Regions from separate parts of the Homo sapiens genome. Here regions 2, 3, 4 and 5 are each linked to region 1. The links are contacts of gene promoters, found by promoter capture Hi-C in blood cells and fetal thymus (Javierre and others, 2016). All regions are on one chromosome and are shown on one strand. Each heading gives the region's core, a stretch centred on a gene start or on the middle of the fragment in contact. The rest is flanking DNA. Distances are from core to core; before and after follow the strand shown.

Region 1 (2,700 bases), core at 147-2,646:
GTTCTGAGGCGGCTGCGGCAAGCGGGGGGCCAGCACGGTGGGCGTCAGGGTGGCCCGAATCCCGCTGGTGGTGGCCGTGGGCGTCCGGGACAGGCTCTGGGTCACTGCGCCGGCCGCGCCTTTGGGCAGCCCGGTGGGGGTCCCGGGGGCGGGCGGCGGGACGGCGGCCGGGCTGGGCAGCGCCCCTTGCATAGTTGGCCCGATGACCATGCTGGCCGCCGTGCTGGCCGGGCCGCTGGCCGCCAGGGTCTGCGCCGCCGGGGGCGCCGCCTGCACCACCCTCTTGGGCGACTCGGCCTTGACCCCCGGCGCCGGCGCCGCAGCCGCCGCGCCGGGCCCGGGTTGGCCGCTGACCCCCGCGGGGCCCCCGGCGGCCGGGGCGGGGGCGGGGGCTGCCCCGGCGCTGCCCCCGTTCTGGGCGGCGGCGGGGGGCGGCACGGCGGGCGCGGCGGTCGGGGGTCCGGCGGGGTGGCCGGGCGGCCGGGCCAGAGTGGCGGGCGCGGGGGGTGGCGGGGGCGGGGCGGCGGCGGGGGCGGCGGGCGCGGGGGCGGCGGGGGGCGAGGGCGCGGCGGGCGCGGGGGGCGCGGCGGCGCCCACGAAGGGGGGCGTCTGGATGACAGTGCCGGGGGCGGCGGGCTTGGGCAGCGGCAGCAGCGCGGCGGGCCCGTTGTTGACCAGGCTGACAGCAGGTGCGGCGGCGTGGTGCGAGTTCAGCAGCGCGGCGCTCCCATTCAAAGTTTGCGCGGCGCCGGGGCCGGCGGGCTTGCCAGGGCCAGGGCCGGGGCCGGGGCCGGGGCCGGGCCCGGGGCCGGGGCCGGCGCGGGCGGCCAGCGCGGCGGGGCCGGCGGGCTTGGCGGGGCCGGCGGGGGCGGGCTCGGGCCCCGCGGCGACGGCGGCGGCGGCGGGCACCGGGGCGCAGGACCCCGCGCTGCCCTCGGGCGGCGGCCTCAGCTTCGCGGCGGGCGGCGCGGGCCCTGCGGGGACAAGGGGGCGGCGCGGTGAGGGGGGGCCCGGGCGCTGCGGCCCCCCGCCCCCCGGCCGCGCTCTACCTGCGGGGGGCGGCTCCGGCGCCGCTCCGGGCGCGCCCTCGGCGGGGGCGGCCGGCCCTGCGCCCGCGGCTCCGGCCGGGCTGCCGCTCACAACATGGTTCCCGAGCGCGCCGGCGGCCGCGGCCCGCACCTCGGGCGTGCGCGGCGCGAGGTGGTGGTGGTGGGCCGCGCTGGCCGCCAGCTGCGACTCCAGCGAGCCCACCAGGTCGCTCACCACTTTCTCGTCCACCTCGCTGTTGAAGAAGACCTCGTCCAGCAGATCCGAGCCCGCCGCCATCTTTTTTCCTCGGCCGCCGCCGCCGCCGCCGCTCGGGCCGAGCGCGCCTGGGCGAGGAGGAGGTTCCGACTGGGGCGGGCGCTGGGCGGGCGGGGGGCGGCGCGCGGCCGGCGGGGGGCGGGGGCGCGCGGCCGGGGGGCGGGGGAGCGGGGGTGGCGGCCCTGCGCAGGCGCGGAGACCGCGGGCGCCCGGCGATTGGCTGCGGCGCGCGCTTAAAAGGCGCGGCCAATGGCTGCGAGCGCTAGAGGCCGGGGCGCGGGCGGTCGGCCGGGGTGCGGCAGCAGCGGCGGGAAGCGCGGGGGCTGGAGCTCAGGGGCGCGGGCGCCGGGGCGGTGGCGGACGGGGAGGGGGCCGCCGGGCGGGGCGCGGGATGCGGGAACGGTGCGCTGGGCCGGGCCGAGGCGGGCGCGGGGCGGCGACGGGGCCTCGCTCTTTGTCTCGGCTCGCTCCAAAATGGCTGCGGCGGCGCTGACGGGAGCGCCGGGCGGGCGCCGTGCGCGGTGGCAGCGGCGGCGCAGGGCCCGTCCGAGGCCCGGGGAACAGCGCGCGGGGATGCCGGGGCGCCGCCGGGCGGCGCGCAGGCCCTGGAGTGGATGGGCCTGGGAGGCGGGCGGGAACGGGGAGGGGACTGTCGCAGCGCGCCCTGGGGACGGGGACCGGCGCCCGGCCCCTCCAAGCCGCCGCGGGGAAGCTGGGTCCGCCTCTGGCTCAGCCGGTCCCGGGCGGTGGGGAGGGGTCCTGCGCGCACGGCTCTTCTCGCCCTCCAATCGTGACCACCCCTGGCCCTTCCCTCCATTTTTAATCAATAAACCCAGCCGCCCCGGGCTGACTGTCCCCGCACCCAGCTGCCTTGGAGACAGGAGTGTCGTATAAGCCCGTAGGTAAGAGCACGGTGCTTGCCAGGCGCCAAACGAAGTTCCCGAGCCTGAAGCCGGCACGTCTGGAAGTAGCTTTTTTTACCTTCTGCTGGGGGAGGGGAGTAAGTTACCTAAAGTGTTCCCAAGCACCTTCTCTCTAGAAATACTTCAGTAAAAGTTCCAGTCCCCTCTTTCTGCGTGTTTTATTTTCCAACCAAAAGATGGTGTTATTGGACATTTCTAGTGGTTTTCCTTTCTCTCATTTCTTCCTAAGAGCCCAGAATAGGTTTCAGAGAGACGCTTCCTTGCCTCGGACCTCACTGGGGCCAAGAGGCCACAGGGTCAGTCTTCGCAGCTGAAGACAGCGCCGCAATAAGCAGAGACCTCGGGACGATGAATGACGTTGCTGACAAAGAAAATGATTTTTTTAATTGCTTTAACAAAGGAGACTGCTAGTCTCGAAAGCAGACCCGAACTGGACCCTTGTGCCTGTTCGAACTGTAGCCTTGCAAAGGAA
Region 2 (2,700 bases), core at 74-2,573, 210 kb after region 1:
TGCGATATCGTGTTTGTGTGTGTGTCTGTTGCCGTTAGGCCGAGTGCGATGTCATGTTTGTGTGTGTGTTTGTTGCCAACGTTAGGCCAAGTGCAATGTCATGTTTGTGTGTGTGTGTCTGTTGCCAACGTTAGGCCAAGTGCGATGTCATGTTTGTGTGTGTGTCTGTTGCCAACGTTAGGCCAAGTGCAATGTCGGAGAGGTGGTGTTGGGTGTTTCCGCCACATGTTGTGGCATGGAGGGCCCCTGCTTCCCAGCGTCCTGTGAGGGGCTCCACATGATGTCTGAGCTGCCCTTTCTTTTATTTTGCTGCCATTAATGTGTCTCTCTTTTTTATTCTTTGACCTAGGGAAGATTTAGGATTCAGATTTATATCGGAACAGGTCAGTCACCACCCCCCCATCAGTGCGTTCCACTCGGAAGGTCTCAACCATGACTTCCTGTTCCATGGCTCCATCTACCCCAAGCTCAAGTTCTGGGGCAAAAGCGTGGAGGCGGAGCCCCGAGGCACCATCACCCTGGAGCTGCTCAAGTGAGTGTCGGTGCGTCCTGCTGAGATCCGCTTCCTGCAGAAACTGAAATGGGTGCTGGTGATGTGGAGGGAAAGCTTCCTTCAGGAGGAAACCCTGTCATTTTTCTCCTGAGGTGGGGACCTCCCCACAGCAGAAACGTCTTCAGATGAGCTTCCTGACCAGGGTCCCGTGTTGCTGGGGTGCGTCCTCACGTCTGCAGTTGGAATTCGCCCCCCTTTCGGTCACATCATTCATTGTATGACCAGGGTCCCATGTTGCTGGGGTGCATCCTCACGTCTGCAGTTGGAACTCACCCCGCTTTCCGGCATCATTCATTGTATTTCTTGTCTTTTGCTGCATAACTGTCCCAAACTTAGCAGCTTCCACACCAGGCTGGCAGGTGTCTGAGGGCCGGGGACCGTGAGGTTGCGGTGGCAATGAGGGTTGGGTTGCCCATGGCGCCTGTGTCCTGGCTCCCCTTCTGGGCTGCTTGCTGCAGGGCACTGCCTCCCACAGGGGGAGAGAGCTGAGAAGGAAGCCAGGGAAGTGGCCCTTTGCACACTCCCCCACCCTGTGCTCATGTGGCAGGGGTGACTTAGGGTTGGAATTTGAAACAGCGTGGGAGGGGACCCTCTGAGAGGCTGCTTGCCACCCCTCTTCACTCTCAGCCTAAATGCTCCCCAATCCAGTGTCAACCAAAGACACCTCAGAGCAAAACACAAGTCTCCAACAAATGCCGGCCGCTAAGACCCGACAGACACAGACCGGATGCTGGCGTCCTCCTGGGCCACCAGTTCTGAGACGTGAGTCTTGCCAAGCCACTGCCTGCAGTCTTGTTGTAGGCAGCAGGTCCTAACAAATACATACAGAAATAAGTAATAAACGACACCTTGCCTGATGAAGCATTTGATTTGGGTTTTGCTTCACATTGGCCCTGCCTGGATGGTGGCTAGAAGGTTCCACAAGGACCTGGAGAAGCCCCTGAGAGTGTGTCCTGGGGCTGGTATGGCCGAGTGCCTGTTGTGCAGTGGCCTTGCTTAATTAAGAGGCATGCAGAAATGAGAAGTTGCACACCTTGCTGATAAAGTTGCACACCTTGCTGATAACCTTGCTGATGAACCAGTTTGGGTTCCACCCCCAGGAAATTGAGAGAATTCCAGACGTGTGGCAAAATACCCTGCTCTGAGCAGATTTCTGCCTTCACTGTGGCTCCCCCACGTAGCACCTTAGAACATAGGGCTGCTGATCTGCTGCCTCACATTGGTGGGGTGTTTTCTTCTTGGGCAGGGCCATTTGGGAGGATGAGGAGTAAAGGAAACAAGTATGTGGAGTGCGGTTGAAAACCCTGCACCCCTCCACAGCCATGTGCCAGCTCCCCAGAAAGCCAGGGCCGCATGCCCAGGACCCTGCATTACTGCCGTGTGTGTTTCGTGAGGTGGCCTTTCTTTTGACGACTTCACAGGAAAGCCATTTGTCTTTGTTCAGTCTTCTTTGATTGCTTATTAACTTGTCTTGACATTTAAGTAGAAAGCTTTGTAGATGCTACAAAGGAAAGAAGAAGTACATTTCAAACGCATGCTAAATACACAGCCTCCGTCGCAGGGGCTTCAAAGCAGCGTGCTGCTCTCCCGCGGGTGCCGGTTGCTGTGACCCAGCCCCGCCTGGTCGTTGCGTCTTGGGTCACGTCGTGTCTTGGCTTTTCTGGACTCTCACTGCTTGTTTTCTGGTGTCTTCACAGACATAATGAAGCCTACACCTGGACCAACCCCACCTGCTGCGTCCACAACGTCATCATCGGGAAGCTGTGGATAGAGCAGTATGGGACAGTGGAGATTTTAAACCACAGGTGACAGCACCCCACCGTTGGGTGAGAGCGCGAGGCTCCGGGTGGGGATGGGCGAGCCGGGGAGCGTGAGCATCCGTGCTCCTGGTGGGTTTTAGCTCAGCCTCACGAGCTGCTGCCGTGTCCCCGCCAGCCCAGGCATAGCAGCTGCCTAGACTTGACTCTGACCGGTGTTGGCCATGAATGCTCCTCGTTCAAGACCTCGTTTTTCGTCACGGTTGTTACTTTAAGGCTTTGAGCTATGCTGAAGAGCTGTGTCATTGCCAGGTGCAGCGCAGTGGCCGTCCACGGCCGTTGGCCACTGTCTAGGCTTGAATGCCCTATTCCTGGAAGCTCATGACTGGT
Region 3 (2,785 bases), core at 184-2,683, 180 kb after region 1:
GGTCCCACTGTGGAAGCGTGGTGGTGTCCCGGCCCACCTCTGCAGCTCTTGATAATAAAAGCATCTGTTAAATAGCTCACAGCACTGTTTGCGTGAACTTTTTGGCACTTCTTTCCTTTTCCTTCCAGATTCAGAAAAGAACTTGGGATCATTCAGCAGAATGTCACAGCATCCACATTCTTTCCGCTGGAGCTTCTGCTGATGCAAATCCTGTGACCTCTGAGTTGAGCTGAGTGGTGGAAGTGAGCTTTTATAAGGGACTGGATCTGAGACTCGTGCCTGATGTTTGTGGCTGTTTCTCTTTGCTTGCCTTCTGTTTTCAGTGGAACACTCGCTTGATGTATTTTGAGAAACAAACTCTGGGATCAGTCCTGTTGAGCTAGTGGCTGGCTCCATAGTTTGGGGCCTGAAGAGGTTCCCGCACCCTCAGGGCTTGTGGCGGTCATCAGGCCTCTCTCCTGGGTGTAAGGTGTGTACTTCTCACCTGCGCACTGAGGGCCTGGGGGCTGTGGCCCCGACGCTGAGGCAAGTCAGGGGTGGGAAGGGTCTGAGGGGCTCTTGGCTGAGCAGACACTGAGCACATTTCTTTATCAAAGGCGCTGGGACTGCAACCTTCAGGGGTGCCCAGAGAGCGCCTGTTGTGGGCTCATACGGGGAGTTCTTGGAGGAGCACCAGGCAGGGAGGACTGTAGTGTGTAGGGAGTTGTGTGGAGTTTTGGTTCCAGAAAAGACGGAGGCAGCTGTAGAGGAAGGAGGACTATGGTGTGGAAGTGAGTGCCTGTGCTTTGTACTGAATAAACCTAAGGCTGATCCAAGGCTGATCGTGAGAAAGAGCCCCCTGTAACCTGGGACCTTGTGCCACTGTGCTCGGCCAGAGAGCAACTTCCATTATTGCCTTAAAACTAGGGGGACTGTGATTCAGTGACATTTCGGTGACTCCGATAATGACGGCAGGTGTCAGGTGCGCACAGGGCGTGGGGCTACCCTCTTACTGTGAAAGAGGACACGGGCTGCGTCTGTGGTGGCGAGCTCCTGCGAGTGCCCTGGCTCTGGCTTGGCCTCTCTTGATGATGTAGCAGAGCTGGGAGTCTCGCTGTAATCATCACCCGTCTTCCAAGTAAGTCTCACCTGTGGGAAATGCTGGAACACCTGAGCGGAAGCAGAGCCAGGGCAGTGCCTGAGCTGGGGCCAGGGGAGGGGTCCCAGTGCAGAGGTGCCCGAGGAGCCCTAGCGCCTGCCCCGCAGCCCCTGCCCCGCAGCGCCTGCCCCGCAGCGCCTGCCCGGCAGCTCCGCCTCTTCAGTGGCTCGGCTGTCAGGGTAGAAGGCTCCTGGGTTAACATCATGGAGTTTTCACCCCTGCTTCTCATCAGAAAAGCTGGGGGAACTTTTTAAAAAGTGTGGGTTCAAGGCCCAGCCCCAGCTTCACTGAGCCTGGGTTTCCCGGGAGGGGCCCAGGAAGAGATGTGTTTAACAAGCTCGGGAGGGTCTGGGGTGGGTCCTCAGCGGGGAGTCCAAGTGCTGGAGGCCCACGGTGGGGTCAGGACCCTTTTTTAGATCAAGGACCCCTTTGAGAACTTCATGAATATGAATAATGTGGGTCATTATTCTGGGGAAAAAAATGAACGAAAAATTTTTTTTCCTGTTTTTTTAAATTTTTTAATTAAAAAAAAATTTTTTTTGCAGAGGGTAGGGGGGTTAGAGATTGGTGGTTTTCCCTGACCTTGGTTTGAAGCCCTGCCTGTAGGTGCTCAGGAAGCACAGTTGGCAGCCACGTGGGCAGGTCTGATGTTAGGGTGACAGGTTTCTCAGCACAGTGGACCCCATTAGGGCTGCACAGGATGAAGATGGGCACGATGGTGAGGAGGGCCTGGAGCTGAGGCCACAGAGAAGGAGGCGGCCAGAGGGCAAGGACGCACTCCAGCAAGCCAGCCACTCCTTGGCTGGGCAGGTGCCCTGGGGAAGGCCGGGAGCCCTGCAGGACAACAGCCTCTCACCTGGGTCACTCACTTCCCTTTGCTGTCTTAATTTTCCTCCCACTCCCTCACCGCGTCCTCCGCCTGCTGTGGCCCTTGCTGGGTTGTGAGATGTGGGTACAAGGTGTCTCCTTCTCCTCTAGCTGCAGCCGCAGGCTGGGCTCCTCTCGGGGCCGTTGGTTTTGATCATCAGAGATACACAGCGGCGGCGGGTCGGGGGCTGGCTGGACTGCTGCTGCCCTTGGAGTGCTCTCCCTGCCCTCCGGCATGGCTTTCTGAGAGCAGGGCGCCCGTGAGCTGTGGGGCATGCGCCCTGTCCATTGCCTTCCCACCCAGTCTCGTGGGCCGCATTGGAACAGCTTTTTATTGTGTTGCATAAGGAGAAGGTTGATTAAAACACATGTTTTTGTACGGAAGCGCTTGCATTCATCTTGTGTGTTTGGAAATACATCGTACTGCATTACAAGGTAATGTTCCTCGAGGTGCGTGGTGTATTTTTGGCAATTAATATTCCACAGGAAGCAGTTAAGTCAGCGACAAGACTTGAGGGAGTTGACTGTGGTGAGTGGGGCGCTAGGCTCCGCTTCCGGGACGTCGGGCCACACTGGCCGCGAGGCCCAGTGGGAAGGTTTGCCACTCCCCACAGCTGCTTCTTGGGACCAAGCCGGGCTCACCTTTGCCTGCCTCTCAAGGTCACCCTCTTGGCATGGAGAATGGTAAACAGTGGGGGTGCTGCTGTCTGCACAGTGGGAGAGGTTCACCTGCCTTTCTCAGTGTAGAAACTTCCTGCGTGAATTCTGGACTGATGCAGA
Region 4 (2,700 bases), core at 178-2,677, 240 kb after region 1:
CTGGGGTGCAGAGGCCACTGCACCTCAGGGTTCTCACGAAGCGCCTGACCTCTCTATTTTATTACTATTATTATTATTATTTTTTTTTTTTGAGAAGGAGTCTTCCTCTGTCGCCCAGGCTGGAGTGCAGTGGTGCAATCTCGGCTCACTGCAACCTCCACCTCCCGGGTTCAGGCGATTCTCGTGCATCAGCCTCCTGAGTAGATGGAATTACAGGCATGTGCCAGCATACCTGGCTAATTTTTGCATTTTTAGTAGAGTCGGGGTTTCATTCACCATGTTGCCCAGGCTGGTCTTGAACTCCTGGCCTCAAGTAATCCGCCCGCCTCGGCCTCCCAAAGTTCTGGGTTTACAGGCGTGAGCCACCGCGCCTGAGCCCTCTAAGAGCCCCCGCCTGGCGTCGCTGTAGGCAAATCCCAAAGAACGTGTCCCTTCAGCAGCCGGCTGGGGCGCCACAAACACTATCTGTTGTCTTCGCTTTAGTTTGTGTCAAAGTGACTCAAAGTTACACAACACTGGCGGGCGACTGCCGCCTTTTTACCCTGTGGCCTTTCCCATCCAGGCGTCCAGAGGGTGAGCCCCTGCCCTCCAGGACCCCTCCCTTCCAGGACCCTACCCGTCTGGGACTCAGGCCTTCCCTGACTCCTCCCTCCCGGACTCACCCCTCCCAGATCCCTCCCCTCCGGGACCCTCTCCCCTCCCGGGCCCCCTCCCCTCCGGGAACCCCTCCCCTCCCGGACTCACCCCTCCCAGATCCCTCCCCTCCAGGAGCCCCTCCCCTCTCGGGACCCCTCTCCTCCCGGACCCACCCCTTCCTGACCCCTGCCCTCCCGGACCCCTGCGGGACTAGATGTATACAGCTGAGACCATATCACGGTTCTCACCCTCGCTCTACCCTCCCGGACCCCTGCTCTCCCGGACGCGTGGACTCCAGCTCCCGCCTGGGTCCCCAAAGCGCTGAACCCATGGTCACTTCTATGCGTAGCCCTGGTGCCCGCCGCCCACAGCCGGACCGCACTCCTCGGCCTCCGCCTAACCCCTGGCTCAGCCACACGAGTGACAGCTCTGCCCGCCCGGGCGGGCGACGCCGAGGGGTGGGCTCGGCCCCACCTGAGCAGTTCCCCAGCGCCCCTCTGAAACCCGCCTGTGGTCCCTGGCGCCGCCTCTAGGGGCCGCCGCCGCTCCCCTATGACACAGCAACAATAGGGGCCGCTCTGGTCCAAGCGCCCTGCGGCCCGCGCTTCCGCCGGAAAAGAGCCGCCGGCGCGGGGGCGGACCGGGGAGGAGCGAGTGCGATGGACGGTCGCCCTCGCCAATCGTTGGCAGGTTAGAGCCGGCTGCGCGGCTTACGGGGCTCAATCGGCGGCGAGAGCGGCAGGCGGGGCGGGCCGAACGCGGGTTTCCGGCGGGGCCCGGCAGGCGCCGAGGAGGAAGAGCGAGCCCGGACGGCGCCTCTCGAACGAGTGTGGGCGCGAGGCAGGTGCGGGAGTCGCCGGGCCTGGGGCGGCCGGGGGCGACCGGAGGCGGGGGCAGGGGCTGCTGGACCAAGGATGGGGCGGGGGCAGCCAAGACGAGAAGGTGGCCGGCGCGGCGGGTGGGGCCTGCGGGGGCCGGGCCGGGCGGGGGTTCTGGGGTCTCGGGCGCCGCCCCGGTTCCGCCTGCGGCTCTGAACGTGGGGCTCGGCGGGAGCTCGGGCGGGTCTGCCCCGCGGAGCGGGTCGCCGGGGTGGCGCGTCGAGGCTGGTGCCCCGCGGAGACGGCGTCAAGCCTAGGGCCGGCCCCACTAGGCTTGGCGGGGCTGCCCCGGCCCAGCGCCGAGTGCGGGCGGTGCGATCGTCGTGAGCGGGGCAAACGCGGAAAGGCAGCCCGGCGTGTCTGAGTCTGCCTTAGGCAGCTCTGGGCGCAGGCCCCCTGCTCGCAAACACCCCAGGGGGCGGGAGCTTGCCGGACCGCAGGCGACAGTGACCGCCGCGTCTCAGCGTCCTCTCCGCGCTTTCAGGATGACGACCTCAGGCGCGCTCTTTCCAAGCCTGGTGCCAGGCTCTCGGGGCGCCTCCAACAAGTACTTGGTGGAGTTTCGGGCGGGAAAGATGTCCCTGAAGGGGACCACCGTGACTCCGGATAAGCGGAAAGGGCTGGTGTACATTCAGCAGACGGACGACTCGCTTATTCACTTCTGCTGGAAGGACAGGACGTCCGGGAACGTGGAAGACGTGAGTGTCCCTGAGCCGCAGCAGCAGGACAGGCGACTTCTCGGGCCCTCGGAGTCCTCGCTTTGGAGTTCGCGGTGGGGGCTTGGCCGCATCTGGGGACCGCTCGTGGGGCCGTCATCGACTGCCCTGCTGATGGGTCGTCCTGGTTTCCGCGGTGACAGGGGCATCTCGGCCACTGTGTATCTTGAACTGTCCGTGTGAGGTGCCTGGGTTGGAGGTGTGGCCCTGGAGAGCCCGGAGCTCTGTGCCTGGCCTTGAACTGTCCGTGTGAGGTGCCTGGGGTTGGAGGTGTGGCCCTGGAGAGCCTGGAGCTCTGTGCCTGGCGGCTTCACTCAGTCTTCTTTGTTTTTCAAACTCTTAGTTGTTCTTTGTTACATTTGAGAGCAGTTCAGCGTTGACTTTTTAACTACTCTGGGAATGTTGTTTCCAGCACGTCTCAGAAACCCCGTTGCCATCTGAAAGGCCCCTTTCCCTGCTCTCTCCCCCGG
Region 5 (2,700 bases), core at 131-2,630, 140 kb after region 1:
AGAATAAAACTTTTTCCCAGAAGACAATACACCCATTAAAAATAGTAAGCCTGCTGGTAAGGTTATTTGGATGGCACTTTATATCTGCAGAGTACTCTACATGTAAATTTCTATCAGTAATCAAATGATTAGTAGAGTACAGGCAGCCATTTTCCTCTTTTTTGAATCCTATTAGAAGCAGAAAGAGAAGGTATGAAATGTACTCTACTAGATAGATCCATCGCCACGCTGGTCTCCCAAACATCTCCAAGCATTGAATTCCTCAGGTGTCAGTTGGCCCAGTGAATCACCCAGGTGCTAAATCAAATGGCTTCAGTTCAAGGCGTTCCTTGAAAGGAAAGTGTTAGAACTCAGGAAATCCGCCTTCGCAGTGGGCTCCAGGCCTTCTCTCCCAGGCTCGAGGTGGAAGGCGCTCTTGGGTGCTGGGTGTGCCAAGTGGTCACCTCGTGTGCCCCTGTCTTCCCTGCAGTGGCCGACATCCCCGGCATCATACGAGGCGCCCACCAGAACAGGGGTCTGGGGTCCGCCTTCCTCAGGCACATCGAGCGCTGCCGCTTTCTCTTGTTCGTGGTGGATCTTTCTCAGCCTGAGCCGTGGACTCAAGTTGACGATTTAAAATATGAACTGGAGATGTATGAAAAGGGCCTGTCTGCGAGGCCCCACGCAATCGTCGCAAACAAGATTGACCTCCCTGAAGCCCAAGCCAATCTGTCCCAGCTCCGGGATCACTTGGGACAGGAGGTCATCGTGCTGTCGGCGTTGACCGGCGAGAACCTGGAGCAGCTGCTGTTGCACCTGAAGGTGCTGTATGACGCCTACGCGGAGGCCGAGCTGGGCCAGGGCCGCCAGCCGCTCAGGTGGTAGCCACGCCAGAGCGGGGTCGCCTCTGGGCCTCTGTCTGAGCAAACCTGGGTGTGAATTCGGTGGTTTTGAATGCATAAAGTGCCTTGTGGACACGGGGGAGTTGTGGTGCTTCTGGGTCTCTGGGCCCCGCCTGCTGGCCTGAGATGCCCTCATGTTGGGAAGCATTCCGTGCCCCCTACCCCGCCTGCCCTCCGTATTTCCTGCACCTGTCAGCCTGCACCGACTGATGAGCCAGTTGCTCATTTGTGCTGATTAACACCCCTAATAAGGGGTTGGGGTGCCCATAACGGGGTGGCCCTGCCGCTGACTCAGGTCTCCGCCATGCACGCGTGGACTCTCGGATGAGCTCAGCAGAACCGCACAGCCAGAGCCCCAGGTCAGAAGTGCAGACCAGGGTTCTCAGCACAGTGCCCGTCGTGCTTCCATGGCTTGCTACGGAGAGAGACCTCTGGATCCACACTGGGGCTGCGTCTGGCCCGTTGTCCAGCAGCCCTGCGGTACCGCAAGCCCAGGCACCAGTGTCTCGGGGGGCCTCACTGCTGCGCAAGGGGTGGGGCCGAGGATGCAAGTCCAGGCAGAGCGGCGCAGGCAGCTGTGAGCTTTTCTCCATCAGCCGTCTGAGAAGAGCAGTGAGGCCAGCTGCTTCCTGTCCTTCAGAACACTTCTCTGTGCTCAGTGGGAGCCAGGAAGCCTCAGGCTTCACGACTGAATGCACCCAATATCCGACCTGGCTGCGTGTTTCTGGCTGGGCTGCCGTGTGCACAGCAAGTTAACTAGAGGGGCTGTGGGCCATGGAACTGTCAGCGTTATTCTCAGAAGGCGGCCGTGGCATGGGCAGGGTATAGTGAGGAGTGGAAGGAGACGTGTGCCTGGTAATATGGGGCGGAATTTCCACTCAGCTCCATTTGCTGGGGATTTAAAGAGAACCCTTGTGCTACGCCAGGCAGTTACCGAGCCGAAGGGAGATGATGGGCCTTCGCCCCTCAGTGGGATGGCAGCTGAGGGGGCCCTGCATTTGACCGTCGAGACTGCAGCAGCGCCTTTCCTGTCTGTGGTTTAAGTCTTTGCAGTCAAGTACTGATGCATCCAAGCCAGGCCCATGCCTGGTGTCTCCCTGACTGCAGAGGAGCCCCAGGGCAAGGACAGCTCAGCTGCTGGCAGCCTGCCTGGCCCATAGACATCCCCCAAGTAGTCTCAGGCCTCTGACATGTCCCTGAGGGGCCCCTAAGAAAGAAAGTGGAGGGGACACTCCAGAGGCTGTCGTGGGAGGATCATGTGAGCCTGGGAGGTCAAGGCTGCAGTGAGCCGTGATTGCACCACTGCACTCCAGCCTGAGTGACAGAGCGAGACCCTGTCTCAAAAAACAAACAAACAAACAAACAAAAACAGAACATTCTGGGCACGGTGGCTCATGCCTGTAGTCCCAGCACTTTGGGAGGCCGAGGCTGGTGGATCACAAGGTCAGGAGATTGAGACCATCCTGGCTAACACAGTGAAACCCCGTCTCTACTAAAAATACAAAAAAATTAGCCAGGCGTGGTGGCGGTCACCTGTAGTCCCAGCTACTCGGGAGGCTGAAGCAGGAGAATGGCGTGAACCTGGGAGGCGGAGCTTGCAGTGAGCCGAGATCACACCACTGCACTCCAGCCTGAGCGACAGAGCAAGACTCCATCTCAAAAAAAAAAAAAAAGTGGAGGGGACAAAGAAGCAGAGAAGGATGATCAGAAGGGGACCCCCAGCCCTTGGAGGAGAGACGGCAGCCTCAGGTGAGATGAGCCGCAAGGGTCCGGGGCCGCGTCTCTGCACGCTGGGGTGGGGCGCGCTTTGCACAGCAGG

Evidence for each region. The method cuts DNA at HindIII sites, captures the fragments that hold promoters and counts their contacts. A CHiCAGO score of 5 or more calls a contact.
Region 2: a contact is called between a fragment that was not itself captured here and the fragment with the promoter of TAF4 in region 1, in 1 of 17 cell types (neutrophils). The highest score is 5.2, in neutrophils.
Region 3: a fragment that was not itself captured here is called in contact with the fragment with the promoter of TAF4 in region 1 in 5 of 17 cell types (non-activated CD4 T cells, neutrophils, activated CD4 T cells and 2 more); the score reaches 8.0 in non-activated CD4 T cells.
Region 4: the fragment with the promoter of ADRM1 here is called in contact with the fragment with the promoter of TAF4 in region 1 in 1 of 17 cell types (neutrophils); the score reaches 6.8 in neutrophils.
Region 5: a contact is called between a fragment that was not itself captured here and the fragment with the promoter of TAF4 in region 1, in 1 of 17 cell types (neutrophils). The highest score is 5.3, in neutrophils.

The regions. Positions count from the first base shown.
Region 1 is chr20:62,064,485-62,067,184 of GRCh38, forward strand. TAF4 (TATA-box binding protein associated factor 4) reads right to left here and starts at 1,397. Exons shown (of 15, transcript NM_003185.4): 1 at 1-1,397. The coding sequence starts at 1,326. MIR3195 (microRNA 3195) reads left to right here and starts at 318; the gene lies at 318-401. It overlaps LOC105372705 (a long non-coding RNA gene), which reads left to right and starts at 1,970. Exons shown (of 2, transcript XR_936960.3): 1 at 1,970-2,207; 2 at 2,458-2,700. RefSeq lists enhancers at 1-115, 116-629, 630-1,144, 2,173-2,686 and silencers at 1,078-1,167, 1,428-1,537, 1,798-2,177. The HindIII fragment of the contact is 9,555 bases long and covers 1-2,700 here.
Region 2 is chr20:62,278,808-62,281,507 of GRCh38, forward strand. OSBPL2 (oxysterol binding protein like 2) reads left to right here. Exons shown (of 14, transcript NM_144498.4): 7 at 350-532; 8 at 2,251-2,358. Among named protein-coding and RNA genes, the nearest start is that of ADRM1, 23 kb to the right of the region's middle. RefSeq lists an enhancer at 126-626. The HindIII fragment of the contact is 1,436 bases long and covers 606-2,041 here.
Region 3 is chr20:62,242,193-62,244,977 of GRCh38, forward strand. All of the region lies in intron 1 of OSBPL2 (oxysterol binding protein like 2), which reads left to right. Among named protein-coding and RNA genes, the nearest start is that of OSBPL2, 5.1 kb to the left of the region's middle. RefSeq lists enhancers at 1,601-2,209, 2,210-2,785. The HindIII fragment of the contact is 4,482 bases long and covers 1-2,785 here.
Region 4 is chr20:62,301,570-62,304,269 of GRCh38, forward strand. It overlaps ADRM1 (ADRM1 26S proteasome ubiquitin receptor), which reads left to right and starts at 1,428. Exons shown (of 10, transcript NM_007002.4): 1 at 1,428-1,480; 2 at 1,999-2,212. The coding sequence starts at 2,000. RefSeq lists silencers at 938-1,057, 1,078-1,537. The HindIII fragment of the contact is 19,122 bases long and covers 1-2,700 here.
Region 5 is chr20:62,200,214-62,202,913 of GRCh38, forward strand. It overlaps MTG2 (mitochondrial ribosome associated GTPase 2), which reads left to right. Exons shown (of 7, transcript NM_015666.4): 7 at 470-2,700. The coding sequence ends at 864. Among named protein-coding and RNA genes, the nearest start is that of MTG2, 19 kb to the left of the region's middle. The HindIII fragment of the contact is 2,804 bases long and covers 1-2,700 here.